2 separate regions of the Homo sapiens genome follow, and region 1 is linked to region 2. Evidence: promoter capture Hi-C in human tissues and cell types (Jung and others, 2019). All regions are on one chromosome and are shown on one strand. The core of a region is centred on a gene start or on the middle of the fragment in contact, and the rest is flanking DNA. Distances in the headings are between cores, read along the strand shown. Region 1 holds the start of TRY-GTA5-1 (tRNA-Tyr (anticodon GTA) 5-1). Region 2 holds the start of SGK3 (serum/glucocorticoid regulated kinase family member 3).

The links. Contacts are between HindIII fragments. The study calls those that stand out against the background at their distance.
Region 1: a contact is called between a fragment that was not itself captured here and the fragment with the promoter of SGK3 in region 2, in 1 of the 25 tissues and cell types used here (mesenchymal stem cells).

Annotation. Positions count from the first base shown.
Region 1 is chr8:66,111,190-66,114,820 of GRCh38, reverse strand. TRY-GTA5-1 (tRNA-Tyr (anticodon GTA) 5-1) reads right to left here and starts at 1,454; the gene lies at 1,362-1,454. It overlaps TRY-GTA5-2 (tRNA-Tyr (anticodon GTA) 5-2), which reads right to left and starts at 833; the gene lies at 745-833. It overlaps TRA-AGC8-2 (tRNA-Ala (anticodon AGC) 8-2), which reads right to left and starts at 632; the gene lies at 560-632. It also overlaps a transcript of TRIM55 not described here. RefSeq lists enhancers at 479-1,131, 869-1,408, 1,132-1,783, 1,949-2,028, 2,099-2,148 and a silencer at 1,519-1,568. The HindIII fragment of the contact is 8,750 bases long and covers 1-3,631 here.
Region 2 is chr8:66,710,462-66,714,247 of GRCh38, reverse strand. SGK3 (serum/glucocorticoid regulated kinase family member 3) reads right to left here and starts at 1,467. Exons shown (of 17, transcript NM_001033578.3): 1 at 1,415-1,467. The region is part of intron 3 of C8orf44-SGK3 (C8orf44-SGK3 readthrough); the gene reads right to left. RefSeq lists a silencer at 1,289-1,758. The HindIII fragment of the contact is 13,282 bases long and covers 1-3,786 here.

The sequences.
Region 1 (3,631 bases), core at 283-2,782, 600 kb after region 2:
TCCAACGGCAGCCCCTGTGTCCAGGGACTTTATCCACTCACCTCTCCAGGGCTACCTTTTGCCTTGTCCTATCCACCTCGGATCTGCCCAGAGCCAGGCAGTCCGCCCTGCGGACTTGAGATGGGGCCGAACAGTTCCTGCTTCCTCGGTTGAGCAAACGTTCAAAGTAATCAGCGTCCGTTTCCAAGTTCTCTGTTTCTTGTTTTGTTTTCCCTGTGGGTCTCCCCGAACTATGGGCAGCTTAGCCTCAGATGAGTCCCTGGAAATGCAGACATCTTATCACAAATCATAAAGGATTCTGAGTGATAATACATGTGACGGCAATCTGTCGCCATTTTTGAAGCAAAAATAACCAGTTTCGTGAATTTCCCCCCAATTAAATGGGTCTAAAAATTTAAAGCTAGAAGGATAAACTGCTAGCGCCCACCACTCATTGTCTGGGAAGTTTTAGAGTGGTAAGCTGGAGCTCGCCCTACTCTTCACCTGACTTCGTCTGACTTTTCAGCTCTAGTTTGGGCTGAGAATCGAAAGAAAAACCGTACGGGACAGGAAGGAAAACTGGAGGATGCGGGCATCGATCCCGCTACCTCTCGCATGCTAAGCGAGCGCTCTACCATTTGAGCTAATCCCCCACGGCTGGGCACGGCTTATTATCTGTTCCTTTAGAGAAGGGTCAGAACATTGAGCGCTGAAGACAGACTTTTTTGGTTCAAAGCAACAAAATAATGGGGGGGGGGGTGTCTCTCCTTCGAGCCGGAATCGAACCAGCGACCTAAGGATGGCCACGGGCGCGCGCCTACAGTCCTCCGCTCTACCAGCTGAGCTATCGAAGGGAGCGGGCACAGCTTCCCGGGTGCCGCCTTGTCTCCATAACATTGTGTCATTTTTAGGCTTCGTGTTTTTAGTATTGTGTTCTCTCTTTCTGATTCCCAGGTTCCGGGAGCGCCAGATACCTCTTCCCGCGGACCCCCCACCTCCTCACGGCAGCCGTTGCGAGCCCTCGGGTCGCAGAAGCTGCCCGGGGCTCTGAGGAGAAGGTCCCCGCCTGGCCCCCTGGAGCCGGCGCTGCCTCCTGTGTGACTCGGGGCCCGGGCAATGCCAAAGACGGGTTAAGAAGACGCAGAAGTCGTGACCCGGCAGTCGCTCGGCCAAGCGCAGACCCACAGCTGCGCTGGGAACCTGCCCGGACACGTTCCCGCAGGGCGAATGGCTAAAAAGAATTACCGTGCAGGCTGGGAGGCCCAAAATGGGGAGAAAGCGCTAGACTTTCAAACTGCTCGTTGGAATGCAATGTGTCACTGAAGGCACCCAAGGAAAGTGCCATAAGTCATCGGGAGCTGGAGAAAAAAACCGCACTTGTCTCCTTCGAGCCGGAATCGAACCAGCGACCTAAGGATGTCTCCTGCTGAGGAAGTAGCTACAGTCCTCCGCTCTACCAGCTGAGCTATCGAAGGGACGTGTACGTGTGTCGGCGTCCCCTGAGGTTCAGCACAGAAAAACCGGAGCGCTAGTCCAGGCAACCGAAGATTGCACTGAGCATGCGTAATCCGAGGAGCGCAGAGCCCCAGAGCCGGCCTGTGTGCTCTACGCGTGCGCAGAAAGACAGAACGCTCCGGCTCGCTAGCCTGACTGACCCGGGAAAGGCCCTCAACCCAGGTGTCTGGGGTCCGCGATGCCAAGACCCTGCGATTCCACCGCCCCCCCTTGTCGTACTTTTCCTTTACCAGCCTGCGTTGTCCTTTAAAGTGGTTGCCGAGTGTGTTCTCAACACACAGTAATCCAACGGCGACTGAAGGAGTAGCGTGGTAGGCCAGTGGCGCAAGGGATAACGTGTCTGACCACGCATCAGAAGATTGTAGGTCCAGCTCCTGCCTGGCTCGGCATTATTGTCACTTGAGGTTAACAAACCAGAAATCATTACCTCCTCTGGCGTCCCCAAACCGCGAATGCCAGCAGTTTGGATTTCTGCAGTGTCCGTTGCACTTTGAGCCCGGGAGGCCTTACCAGCGCCACCGGTCCAACTCCCGCGGGGTGAAGGGAAGGCCCCGAGGGTCTCGGAACGCCCCCGGCAGGCAAGCCGGGTTAGGAAGACGCCACTGAAGCCCGGGGTTCTGTAGACAGAGCTGGTTCCACCGCATCTACTAAGACATCAGAGTCACTAAGTTCCTAGAGAAAGTCCCCTCACCAACCCCCGGCTAAGCAAAGAGAGGGAAGAAGATCACATAGAATGTCTTTTTGATCTGGTTCCTATTTTATGTTTAATTTTAAAAAGTTATTCAATCCCAGATAGGCTTATAATCCTGCTTCGTCGGCCTATTTTTGTAAGGTCATAGCGTTTATAAATTGTTAAGGTTTGCTGCCATATTCCCACTCAGTTGTTAGCGTAGCGTAAAAACCATCCAACGACCTGGGTTTTGCCCTTAGAGATCTTTTAACCAAGAAGGCATCATGTTGGTTTGGGCAAACTGAGTTTCTATTTTAATGTTATTATAGTAATATTTGTGGAAGGGAGATTGGAATTATTTCTTAAATCTCCCCTGTAAGATAGCAGTTCCCAAAAGTAAAAGCTTTAATAAAATGTAAAATTAGGGAAGATAAAATACGAAGTTAGAGAAAAGAAAAGGGCTGGATTTTTAAGTGGGAAAGCGGCTTCCTTAAGACTGCACAAACATGAGATTATTTTTGTTTCCTGGTGAACATTTTGCCATTTTTGCATGTAACAAGCCGACGTATCTTTAAAGTTATACAGCATTTCTGAGAGTTTGAGAAAATGACCTCTGAGAGGTGGGGGAGGTGAGTTGTACCCCTCTGGCTCAAGTTTGTGGACAGAACCATGAAAATCAGGCTAAGAGAAAAGTGCCTCCTTTTAGTCCTACCTTCTCCTTATTTTACAAAGGTGGCGAGCAGGGTGTTTATTAAATTATTATTTTCATTATTTTTTAGAAACAGAGTCTTGCTTTGTTACCCAGGTTGGGGTGCAGTGATGCCATCATAGCTCACTGCAGCCTCAAACTTCTGAGCTCAAGTGCTTCTCCTGCCTCAGCCTCCTGGAATTACAGGCATGTGCCACCTCACCTGGCTCTGGCTTTGTTGCCCAGGCTGGTCTTGAACTCCTGGCTTCAAGTGATCTTCCCGCCTCAGCCTCCCAAAGTGCTGGGATTAAGGCACGAGCTACCATACCTAGCCAAGCCCTCTTCCCCAACAGCCAACCTTACTTGAGTAATAGGTTTCAGGGAGGCCAAACGTGTGATTTTTGGCCTTCTTACTTGTAAGTGACAGAAATTCACAAGAGTTAGTATAAGCAAGACATTTATTTTAATGATACAGGGGTGTCCCCAGGAAAGCAGAGATGAAATGTAACTAGGCCTTCTTAAAGGTTTCTCTCTCAGTGTTTCTCAGCTCTGCTCTAGTGCACACAGTTGGAAACATGGTGCTGTCCCCCACCCTAAAAGTTCTGGAGCTTTATTCTTCACAGTCTATCACACAGAGAGTCACTTCTCTTTCTCAGGCCTGACTGCAAAACTCTCCATTATTCTTGGCCTCACTTAGGTGCTCACCCACTGTGTCCAGGGATCAGGATTACATGTATGAAGGTTGGGCGCATACGACTATACCCCTTCCTCCCCAGGAG
Region 2 (3,786 bases), core at 218-2,717:
TTTGTTATGTTGATGTGTGCAAACAAAAATGTTCTATTTTATAGTACATTTCAAGTTCAATCTGACCCTCATATCTAAACTATGTCATATAAATAATGTCATATAAACAGTGTCGAACAGATCAGGAACAAAGCTCTTTTCAAAAACAAAAGTAGGCTCCATGCAGTGGCAGTTAAAGAAGGGGAAGTTCTGGTGTCTCCAGAGTTAGCCGATGGGCACAACGGCAGTTGAAAGAGACCATGTTACACAAGTCATTCAGGTTCTGGCCAACATCTGCTTTGAACAGGTCGCATTCCCAGGAGCTCCAGGCTCCCTTACCCCAGGGAAATGCTGGGGTGGTGGCTTGTCTTACAGAAGTGGTAGCCAAGGGGACCAGAAGGCACACCCGGTGCTAAAACATGCCTAAAACTTCCTCTAATGTTTACAGCTCTTCCAATGACATTTGGGGAACTAAAGTATGGATAGCCTCTTCATTGCTAGAACCGCTATAATATGATAAGTTAAGAATTTGATTTAATATTTATAAAGAACTTAGAAAGAGCCCAGCGCATAGTAAGGGCTATGTAAGTGTTTGGTAAATAAAAAAAGGCACCTCCCAGATTGGCTGGGTGAAGTCTCAATCTGGTGAGAAGGGAGAGAATCAAAATACACAACAGTCTATTTTTCACTTTGACAAAAGATTTAGAAATTACAGTGCTCTGTATTTATTTTGCACCCAAGTGCACACTAAGTAGTCTCTGGTGCAGGACTGAAATTCTACTCATGGTTCAGAAGTCACTGTGCACAACTCAATGAAAGCGTTTTAAGTTTCAAGAGATGATTCCTTTCTCTTTTCTCTTTCCAAGTAACGATGACTAAAAATGACAGAATCTAAAAATCTCAAAGCACTTCTTGTGGGTACATTCCAAAGCTAAAACTGTGAGAATTAATAGGGCCAGATTCACTTGAAGAGACGTAAGGGTTCAAATTACAGAGAACTTAAAAGACGCAACGTATTAAGGTCTTTTACTACAGATCCGCTGACAACAGGTTAAACGATTCCATCCACCCCACTCTGGCGGCTGCCCCCTCCCCGACCCTCGCAGGTGACCTGCACCCACTTTCGACCTCAGATAGGGTCTCCCTGCTCGGCGTTCCCAGTTCCTCCAGGCTCGGCGGCTGCGTGGGGGTTAACAAGGTCCAGCCACCGACGCCCCTTGGGCGTTTAGGAATCTCGAGGCAGGATCTGAATTCACCTCGTGGAAACAAAGACCACAAACTCTCCGGGAGCCGGGGGCTGGGCGGAGGTACGGCTTTTTCCGAGGACAGGCAGCGGCCGAGGCCCGGGCAGCCCTCGCCCCGCCCCGTCTCCTCCCGCCCCGGGCCGCCGTCGGAGTCCCGGGCGCGCGGACCCTCCCGCCGGCCCCGCACCTACCTGGCCCCGCGGTGCTGCTCCCGGCGCGGCGGGCGCGGAGCCGAACGCACTGCGCTTCCTCCTTCCCGGCAGGGCCGCCGGGCGCCGGCGTTTCCTCCTTGACGCGTCACGGCCGCTGGCGGCTCCTCCCGCGGAGCGCGCGGGAGGCCGAGGACAGCCGGGGAAGGCGCCGGATCCCAGCAGAGCGGCGCGAGCGGCGGGCCGGGGGCAGCCCGTGCGGGGAGGGGCTGCAGGCTGCGTCCCGCTCAGGCCTCCGAGGAAACCCGCGCTCCTCTCTCTTCCCCGAGGACCCCCGCGAAAGGCCGGGCCACGGTGCACCGTCTGCCCCCGTCACGCGCTGTGCAAAGTTCAAGAGGACACAGTGGGTCCTGTCTGGAGTCACAGACTCTGGTGTTTCCCTCTGCTCCGCCCGCAGTGGCCGCTACCCTGGGGCCCAAGACCGGCGCGGGCCAGAGCGCCGGGGCCCAACAGAGATGACCTGGTGTGTGCAGGGATCAGGACCCCCCGGGTGGGCCCGTGGTGTTGGGGGGGTTGGCTTGGTGTAAACTGGAAACTCAGAGGAGTGAATTAAATATCCAAATAATTGAGAACAACTGTGATTCATTTAGCATTATTTGGACAGTTTTCCACTTTTGTCATTAGCAGAGTTACGGCCCTTGTGTTTATAAACAGTCGAGAACTTTCACAAATTGGCAGATCCTGTGTGCAGAGAAATTTCCTTTCCACACATCTTTTTAGATCTACTGACTCTTTTTTTTATTCCCATTAATCTCCAAGTCAGCTGAGTGCACACTTTACAGCTCCTTATTACTCATTCTTGAATTACAGAAGCTGCGTTTTAGATCTGTTTATCTCTTTTAACAGATAGAGAAGCTGAGTGGAGAACTAAGAATTACATGGTTCAATGGATGTGGAGTCAAGTGGTTAAGATTTTGAAGTAGAGTGGGTTGTTTTCTTCGTCCCACAACACTACTGTAATTTAGGTCTTATCAGATATCACTTGAAGATAGACTCAGACAAGTACTTAAAGATTCCCATGTGCATATCATGCCTTAGATTTTGAGACAATGATTTGTACTTTAGATCATATGATTCCAGAGAATTTGCCACAAATCTATGAACAAATAAACTGCCAAAGGTTATTAGAGGAACTGGGATCTATGTGTGACTTCCCTAAATTCAGAAGACATTTCCTCATGTTTTAAAATGATATTCAAAGATTTAGCCCCACAAGTATGGGTTAGGACATTCATTTTTAATGTCAATAACCACAATGTGGCCTCTCTTTAAAAAGTGGATTGTGAATCCAAATACTTTTTGTACTTCAGTAATCCTACAGAACTTTCTAAACAGTAGTTTTCAGAAATGAATATAAGAATGCAGTAGATACAAAACAATACATTGCCGGTGGTCCTTTATATGTTTTACTGTGGTCCACAAAGCAATCCACATACATTAGAGGAGTTCTTCCCTTGTAACAAAATCAACAAGTGATGAGTGTATCTCTTAATTAAAGCCATATTCACAGTGCTGAAGATTTCTCAGACAAAAGGAAGTTCTGTGTCAATAAACTCCAAGTGGAATAACATCATTCTCACTTTAGAGACAAATACCTGGCTATCACCACATCTTGACTTTTTAAAAAAATAAACATCTGGGAACCATTACATTTCTAGATAAATTTGTCCTATTGTGAAGAACACACACACACACACACACACACACACACACACACACACACACAGAGATCACCTCCCACAAACATTTTATGTATTTTCTTTTTTTTTTTGAGACGAGACGGTCTCACTGTGTTGCCCAGGCTGGGTTCATTTGATCAACAGACAACATGTTAGGCATTTTGCCTTTACAATCTGAGAGCTGCAATTTAATAGCTAGATTTTGCAAAAAGCTAGAGGAGGTAAATATATTCACAAACTACTAAGGACTTTTTCACTGTAATTAAATTAGTTTTTTTTTTTTTTTTTTTTTTTGAGATGGAGTCTCACTTTTGTTGCCCAGGCTGGAGTGCAATGGCACAATCTCAGGTCATTCCAACCTCCTCCAACTTCCGGTTTCAAGCGATTCTCCTGCGTCAGCCTCCCGAGTAGCTGTGATTACAGGTGCCTGCCACCACGCCCAGCTAATGTTTTGTATCTTTAGTAGAGACAGATTTTCGCCATGTTGGCCAGGATGGTCTTGAACGCCTGACCTCAGGTGAGCCACCCGCCTTGGCCTCCCAAAGTGCTGGGATTACAGGCGTGAGCCACCATGCCCAGTCTAAAATTGGTTTTAAGGGCAAATTTTAAGGCTGATCACTTTGTTGTTGTTGTTGTTGTTGTTTTGGTTTTTTTTTTTTTTTTTGAGACAGGGTC